Linked DNA regions of Homo sapiens: region 1 is linked to region 2. Evidence: promoter capture Hi-C in 16 types of primary human blood cells and fetal thymus (Javierre and others, 2016). All regions are on one chromosome and are shown on one strand. Each heading gives the region's core, a stretch centred on a gene start or on the middle of the fragment in contact. The rest is flanking DNA. Distances are from core to core; before and after follow the strand shown. Region 1 has its middle 55 kb from the start of SLFN11. Region 2 holds the start of SLFN13 (schlafen family member 13).

Region 1 (5,765 bases), core at 86-2,585, 130 kb after region 2:
TGAATTAAAGACTTAAATCTAAGACCTGAAACCATTAAAATTCTAGATGATAACACCAGAAAAACACTTCTGGACATTGGCTTAGGCAAAGAGTTTATAACCAAGAACACAAAAGCAAATGCAACAAAAACAAAAATAAATAGATCAGACCTAATTAAACTAAAACCTCCTGCACAGCAAAAGAAATAATCAGCAGAGTAAACAGACAACCCACAGAGTGGGAGAAAATATTTTCAAACTATGCATCTGACAAGACTAATATCCTGAATCTACAAGGAACTCAAACAAATCAGCAAGAAAAAAACAAAGAATCCCATCAAAAAGTGGACAAAGGATATGAATAGACAATTCTCAAAAGAGGATATACGAATGGCCAACAAACATATGAAAATATGCTCAACATCACTAATGGACAGGGAAATGCAAATTAAGACCACAACAAGATGACCTTACACCTGCAAGAATGGCCATAATTAAAAATAAAAAATTAACAGATGTTGGCATGCATGTGGTGAAAAGGAAATACTTTTACACTCCTGCTGGAAATGTAATATTATCATATTAACTGTAGGTTTGTCACATATAGCCTTTATTATGTCTAGGTATGTTTCTTCTATCCCAATTTGTTGAGAGTTTTTATCATGAAGGAATGTTGAATTTTATTGAATGCCTTTTCAGCATCTCTTGAAATGATCACATGGTTTTTGTCTTTGATCCTGTTGACATGATGTATCATGTTTATTGATTTGCATATGTTGAATTCCTGGGCTCAAGCAATCCTCCCATCTTGGCCTCCCAAAGTGCTGGGCATGAGCCACTGTGCCTGGCTTTATGTATCTTTTCAAAAAAAAAAAAAAAAAACAGGCCTGGCACGGTGGCTCACGCCTCTAATCCCAGCACTTTGGAAGGCCGAGGTGGGTGGATCACAAGGTCAGGAGATCGAGACCATCCTGGCTAACACAGTAAAACGCCATCTCTACTAAAAATACAAAAAATTAGCAAGGCGTGGTGGCGGGTGCCTGTAGTCCCAGCTTCTCAGGAGGCTGAGGCAGGAGAATGGTGTGAACCCAGGAGGTAGAGCTTGCAGTGAGCCGAGATCGCGCCACTGCACTCCAGCCTGGGTGACAGAGCGAGACTCCATCTCAAAAATAAATGAATAAATAAATAAATAAATAAATAAACCAACTGTTCCTTTTGTTATCTTTTTTATTTCTTTTTTTTTAAAGTCTCAATTTTATTTATTTCTTCTCTGATGTTTATTATTTATTGGTTTTTGCCTCCAATTCCTGACTCACAGACAGCATCTCTGGACCTGCCTGGGGAAACTTGCTGCCCTGAAGGAAAGGATACAAACCTGGCTGCCATTGCCACCCGCTGATTGTATAGTCTTAGAGCCTTGAGTGATCATAGATGGTAGCCAGATTGTAGTTATTGTGGGCATTGGGCAAGACCCAGTGCTATGCTGGCTGCAGGTATGATCCAGCACAGTCTCAGTGGTGGTGGCCTCAGGGGTGCTTGTATCACCACACCCCCAGTTCCAGGTGGCTCACCACAGACAGAAAGACTCCATTTATTTAAGAGAAAGTAAGGGAAAAGGACAAGAGTCTCTGCTTGGTAATCTACAGACTTTTTCCAGACCTTATCCAAGACCACCAAGGTGGTACCTCTACAAGTCTACAAAAGCCACAGCATTGTTGGGCTTGGGGCCCAAGTCCCTTTGAATACCTGGAAATGCTTAACAAGAATGGGAACAAATAAGCCCAAACTATGAAGACTACAATAAATACCTCTCTTCAATTCCCAGACACTGATGAACATCCACAAGCATCAAGATCATCCAGGAAAACATGACCACACCAAACAACTAAATAAGTCACCAGGGACCAATCCTGGAGAAACAGATATATGTGGTTAATATAGTTTGGACATATGTCCCTACCCAAATCTCATGAAATGTAATCCCCAATGTTGGAGGTAGGGCCTGGTTGCTGGTGATTGGATCATGGGAGCAGATTTCTCATGAATGACAGCACCATCCCTGTTGGTACTGTCCTTGTGATAGTGAGTTTTTGTGTGGAAGCAGGTTTGGAACTGGGTAACAGGCAGGTATTGGAAGAGCTTTGAGGGTTCAGAAGAAGACAAGAAGATGAGGGAAAATTTGGAGGCTCTTAGATATTGGTTAAATGGTTTTGACTGAAATGCAGATAGTGATATGGACAATGAACTCCAGGCTGAGGAGTTCTCAAATGGAAATAAGGAACTTATTGGGAAATGGATTCCCTGAACTTCAAGAGAGACATGCTGGGCTTATTAGGCTTATTTGTAATGTTAGAATTATACAGGAAGTGGCTGGGCACAGTGGCTCACACCAGTAATCCGAGCACTTTGGGAGGCCAAGGCGGGCAGATCACCTGAGGTTGGGAGTTCGAGACCAGCCTGACAAATATGGAGAAACCCCATCTCTAGTAAAAATACAAGATTAGCCAGTGTGGTGGCACATGCCTGTAATCCCAGCTACTCAGGAGGCTGAGACAGGAGGATTGTTTGAACTCAGGAGGCAGAGGTTGCAGTGAGCTGAGAACGTGCCATTGCACTCCAGCCTGGGCAACAAGAGTGAAACTCTGTCTCAAAAAAAAAAAAAAAAAAAAAAGAATTATACCGGAAGCATTGTCAAATCTGAGGTGGTGTTAAGCTTCCTTTGGGTTATATTTATATAAATGTGTCGTTAATATGTGTTCCAGGATTATATGAAATTCCTAAAATTCTAATGTGTCTTAATATATGTTGTCAGTAATGTATGATTATTATGTTAAAATAATAAATAACCTAATTTCCTGGTCAACTGTGTCTTTATGTCTGTCTTAAGACTTTTGTCATCCACAATTGATGTTTGGCTTTGATCCTTCTCAAAAAAAAAAGTGAGTTATAATCAGCTACAGTTCAAGAATTACTTCTTTGGAGGGGTTCATGAAAAGAACTCTTAAATGCAAGTTTCTGATAACTTTGGAGATCGTGCCATTGGATTAGAGAGAAAACTTCCAGGGCACCAATTCAAAGGCTGACGTGCTTGTAAAGACTGCCAACCCAATATGAGGTAGAGTAGGAGTAGGAACAGGAGTTAGCAGGACTGAAACTTCCCTATCCTATTACCAGTGCTTATACAAGGATTTTATGGAAGGCTTGGATGAAGTTGAAAGCATTCCTCCTGAGAACTGGAACAAAACAATGATGCCTATTGTCTCCATTTCTATTCAACATAGTACTCAAAATCTATGACAAGAGGACAAATAAGGGGAAACAGAAAAACAAGAGAAAGAAATAAAGGGCATCCAAATCTGTAAAGAGGAAATCAAACTGTCACTGTTTACTGATGATATGATTGTATACCTAGAAAACCCTAAAGACTCATTTAGAAGCTCCTAGATCTTATAAATGAATTCAGTAAAGTTTCAGGATACAAAGTCAATGTATGTAAATCTGTAGCACTGCTGCACACCAAGCTGAGAATCAAATCAAGAACTCAACCCCCTTTAAAACAGTTGCAAAAAAAAAAAAAAAGTTAAGTACTTAGGAATATACCTAACCAAAGAGGTGAAAGATCTCTACAAGGAAAACTATAAAACACTGCTGAAAGTAATCATCGATGATGCAAACAAACGGAAACACATTCCATGCTCATGGATGGGTATCATTCAATATTATGAAAATGATTATGTTGCCTAAAGCAATCTACAGATTCAATGCAATTCTCATCAAAATACCATCATTGTCCTTCACAGAACTAGAAAAAACAATCCTAAAATTCATATGAAATCAAAAAAGAGCACGCATAGCCAAAGCAAGACTAAGCAAGAAGAACAAATCTGGAGGCAACACATTACCCGACTTCAAACTATACTGGTATAAAAATAGGAACATAGACCAATGGAACAGAATAGAGAACCCAGATACTTACAGCCAACCCAGCTTTGACAAAGCAAACAAAACACGAAGTAGGGAAAGGACACCCTATTCAAGAGATGGTGCCGCGATAATTGGCAAGCCACATGTAGAAGAAGGAAACTGGATCCTCATCTCTCACCTTATATAAAAATCAACTAAAGATGGATCAAAGACCTAAATCTAGGACCTGAAACCATAAAAATTCTAGAAGATAATATCAGAAAAACTCTTCTATACATTGGCTTAGGCAAATAATTTATGACCAAGAACCCAAAAGCAAATGCAACAAAATAAAAAATAGTTGGGACTTAAAGTAAAAGGCTTCTGCACAGCAAAAGAAATAATAATCAGAGTAAACAGACAACCCAGAGTTGGAGAAAACATTTGCAAACTATGCATCCAACAAAGGACTAATATGCAGAATCTACAAGGAACTCAAAAAAATTAGCAAAAAAAAAAATAATCCAATCAAAAAGTGGGCAAAGAACATAAACAAACAATTCTCAAAAGAAGATATATAATGGACAACAAACATGAAAAAATGCTCAACATCACTAATGATCAGGGAGATACAAATCAAAACCACACTGTGATACCACCTTACCATTCTTATTCCTGCAAGAATGGCCATAATTTAAAAATAAAAAAAAATAGATGTTGGCATGGATGTGGTGAAAAGGGAACACTTTTACATTTCCAGTGGGAATATAAACTAGTACAACCACTATGGAAAACAGTATGGAGATTCCCTAAAAAACTAAAAGTAGATCTACCATTTGATCCAGCAATCCCACTACCTAATATCTGTCCAGAGGAAAATAAATCATTATATGAAAAAGACACTTGCACACACATGTTTCTAGCAGGAGAACCTGAAGTTGCAAAAATATGGAACCAGCCTAAATGCCCATCAACCAACAAGTGAATAAAGAAAATGTGGTATATATATATATATATATATACCACATTTTCTTTATATGTATATATATACATGTATATATAAGTATATATACACATATATATGCATATATATGTATATATGTGTGTGTATGTGTGTGTGTGTGTATATATATATATATATATATCCCATCAAAAAGTGGGCAAAGGGCATAAATAGGCAATTCTCAAAAGAAGATATACAATGGCCAACAAACATATGAAAAAAATGCTCAACATCACTAATGACCAGGGAAATGCAAATCAAAACCACAATGTGATACCACCTTACCATTCTTATTCCTGCAAGAATGGCCATAATTTAAAAGTAAAAAAAGTAGATGTTGGCATATATATACACATATATATATGTGTGTGTATGTGTGTGTGTGTGTATATATATATATATATATATAAATAAAATACACATACCATGGAATATGACTCAGCCAGAAAAAGGAACAAAATAATGGCCTTTGCAGCAACCTGGATGGAGTTGGAGACCATTATTCTAAGTGCAATAATTCAAGAATGAAAAACCAAATATCATACGTTCTCACTTATAAGTGGGAACTAAGCTATTAGGACACAAAGGCACAAGAATGTTACAATGGAATTTGGGGACTTAGGGGGAAGAATAGGGGTGGTGAGGGATAAAAGGCTCCACATTGGGTACAGTGAACACTGCCCGGATGACAGCTGCACCAATAACTCAGAAATGACCACTAAAGAACTTATCTATGTAAACAAAAACCACAATAGTTCCCCAACAAGCTATTGAAATGAAATTTAAAAAATAATCTGTCCAAATCCATAGAAGGTACAACACTGAGAGAGAAACCTAATGTAAAGTATGGGCTTTGGGTGATAATGATATGTCGATGTAG
Region 2 (3,043 bases), core at 544-3,043:
AAAATTAGCAGGGCCTGGTAGCGGGCGCCTGTAATCCTAGCTACTCGGGAGGCTGAGGAAGGAGAATCGCTTGAACCTGGGAGGCGGAGGTTGCAGTGAGCTGAGATCGCGCCATTGCACTCCAGCCTGGGCAACAAGAGCGAGACTCCATCTGAGAAACAAACAAACAAACAAACAAAAAACAAAAAAACACGTTAATAGTTTTTGTAAAGATCTGCTGGTGACAAATTTCCTAAGATTTTTTTTTTTTTTTTGGTCTGAATACGTCGTTATTTTGCCTCCATTTTGGAGGACTTGTTTTGTTTTGTTTTTGGTGGTTATAGAATTCTAGATTGACAGCCTTTTTTTTTTTTCCAGCGCTTTACAGATGTATAGTTCTGGATTCAGTACAGGTTTGCACAATCTATAAACCGCATTTTAAAGAAAAATGAAAAAACTGGAATATGATTATATGAAGATTTACTGAAATGGAAAGGTGGAAGTCATTGAAAAAAGCAGATTAAGAAGAGTACATACAGTGTGACTTTGTATTAATAAAAAAGTATTACATATATGTTTGTGTAATATATATGTATGATCCGTAAAGATATGTACAATAGGGTGTTAATAGTGGTCAGTGGTAATCTCTGGGGCGAAGGGGGGGTGGTATTGGAGTACGTTTTATTTTCTCACTTTAGCCTCCACTGGAGCGTATATTAATCACCCCGGTGTTAACCGCCGCTCCCACCCTTGGGCCAGTCCGCGTCAGTGAGAACTTGGCCGATGCGCGGTGCTTGGTCAACCCCGGTAACCGTCACACTGCTCGTGTTACAAGAAAACCAGCCAGGGTTCTGCTTTTCTGCTCTGCCGCAGCCTTTAACACCTGCCAGGGTTCTGTCCGAGTGTATGGGTTTCGTAGTCCTCCTCTCCAAGGCGTTGACTGAGCACAGAGCACCGGCCGCCGCCACATCCCACTCTGGCGCGGGGTCTGCGGAGCCACAAATCCAGCCAGGAACCGAGTGCCGCCCGATCCGAGCATCCGTCGCATTTTGACCTGGGGTTCCCGGGTCTCAAGGCCCACTTTCTGGGGCAGGCAGTGGGGAGAGAAGCCCAAGCTGGGGTATGGGCAGTTGCAGTGCGGTGGAAGGGGAAAGCTCGGGCGAGAGCTTGGCTGGACCCTCAGAGGAGGGGTCCGGGGAAGGCGGGACCGCAGGCTCCGGGAAAGGAGAGAGAGATAGGGACGGAGGAGGGGCGGAGGGGGAGTAAGAAAGAACTAAGAACCACTCGAAAGCAATCAGAAAACTTGGCGTTTCCAGACATTTTTTTTTTTTTTTGTAGGGGGAACAGGCTCTCACTCTGTCGCCCAAGCTGGAGTGCAGTGGTGCGATCTCGACTCACTTTACCCTGGACTTCCTCGGGCTCAAGTGATCCTCCAGCCTCAGCCTCCCGGGCATCTGAGACTACATTTGAGTCTACAGGCGCGCGCCACTAAGCCTGAGTAATTTTGTTGTTGTTGTTGTTGTTGTTGTTGTTGTACAGACGGGGGTCCCACTGTGCTGTCCAGGCTGGTCTCGAACTTCTTGGCTCAAGCGATGAACCCGCTTAGGCCTCCCAAAGTGCTGGGATTTCATAGGCGCGAGCCTCCCGCCAGGCCTTCTAGACAGCGTGGCAAAGTGTTCCCGGGCTTTGTAGACACTCCCATTGGCGCGTCCATGCCCTGCCTGGGACCCATTGGTTCGTTCATCCCCTGTGTGGGACCTGCCCAGGTAGGCGCCAACCATTGGTTATAAGAACCTGACCTTGGCGCCTCCAGGGAAACGCGGAGTGTCCTGGAGCTTGACGCGCTGGAGCTTGAGAGGTAAGAGAGGGTCCCTGCTCCTACGGGGACTGCGGAGCTCCCGTTTGTACCCACGCCCTAGGGTCTAGTCCGGCACGACCCTGGACTGGCGTTGACTCGGATGGGGAGCAAGCTAGGAGAGCAACCCCCGCCCCCCAGCTCCGGCCAGCCGGTGGAGTCGGGGTATTTGCGTGCTTCTCCCCTGCCTTTGGGGTTCGGCTAGTTTGCTGAGCAAATTCCCTAAAAGGCTATGAGGACTTGATCGCGGCGCGGGTGGAGGCGGGGCGGTGGGGAGGGACGGTGCGGAGAGCTAAAGGGGTTGGAAGGTGTCGCCGGCGGCTTGGCGGGCTATCTGTGTTCCTGTTCCGGCTGCAAAACAGAAAGCCCCTGCCCAGCGAGCAGCGGTTTCCGCGGGGGCGGAACAAACAGGCAGAGCCAAGTGCGTCCTGGAGGCTTCCCCCGTTGCGAAGGTTGGGACTCTTGTTTCAGGGTTCTTGGCATTGACTCACTAACCACTGTAAATTATTGTTCTTAATCTAAGAGTTAAAAAGCAGAATTAGGCCGGGTGTGGTGGCTCATGCCTGTAGCTTCAGCACTTTGAAAGGCCAAGTGGGAGGATTACTTGAGCCCAGGATTTCGAGACCAGCCTGGGCAATGTAGGGAGACCCTATCGCTATGAATAATAATAATAATAATAATATAATACTAATATTAATAAATTAACCGGGCCTGGTGGCGCGCACCTGTGGTTCCAGCTTCTCCGGAGGCTGAGGCAAAAATCGCCTGAGCCTGTGATGGCGCCACTGCCCTCCAGCCTGGACAACACAGGAAGACATTGTATCAAAACAAAAACAAAACAAAACAAAACAAAACAACAAAACAGAATTAGAATTGCCATTACCCTGTACCCATTATCCTGATTACCCTGCAATCTAGAAAGGGGAGAAATGAGAAAAATGTCTCCCTCCCAACGTCTGTAAAATACAGAGCTGCTATCTGAGAAGGACAAAGAGCTCTGTGTTTTATTTTCCCAAGAGGGAGCCTCTGTCGCAGCTGTTTCCTTCTGTTTCTGCCTGAGACTAGCCAGTCCCCACCAGTTTTCCTCAGTGGGGTGGGGGGCTTGGGAGTGGATGGGAGGATTTGTGTTGTTCTGATTTTACCTACAGTATACCTGTGTAGGAGGCGAAACTGTTTCCATCAATTTCCACAGAGAAGCAAGGGCAAGAA

Evidence for each region. Contacts are between HindIII fragments. The CHiCAGO score rates a contact against its expected background, and 5 or more counts as called.
Region 1: a contact is called between a fragment that was not itself captured here and the fragment with the promoter of SLFN13 in region 2, in 6 of 17 cell types (non-activated CD4 T cells, naive CD4 T cells, total CD8 T cells and 3 more). The highest score is 8.5, in non-activated CD4 T cells.

Annotation. Positions count from the first base shown.
Region 1 is chr17:35,315,955-35,321,719 of GRCh38, reverse strand. No RefSeq gene overlaps it. Among named protein-coding and RNA genes, the nearest start is that of SLFN11, 55 kb to the left of the region's middle. The HindIII fragment of the contact is 2,718 bases long and covers 1-2,694 here.
Region 2 is chr17:35,447,516-35,450,558 of GRCh38, reverse strand. It overlaps SLFN13 (schlafen family member 13), which reads left to right and starts at 1,793. Exons shown (of 6, transcript NM_144682.6): 1 at 1,793-1,837. RefSeq lists enhancers at 478-977, 878-1,087, 978-1,479, 2,358-2,517 and a silencer at 1,708-1,787. The HindIII fragment of the contact is 16,320 bases long and covers 1-3,043 here.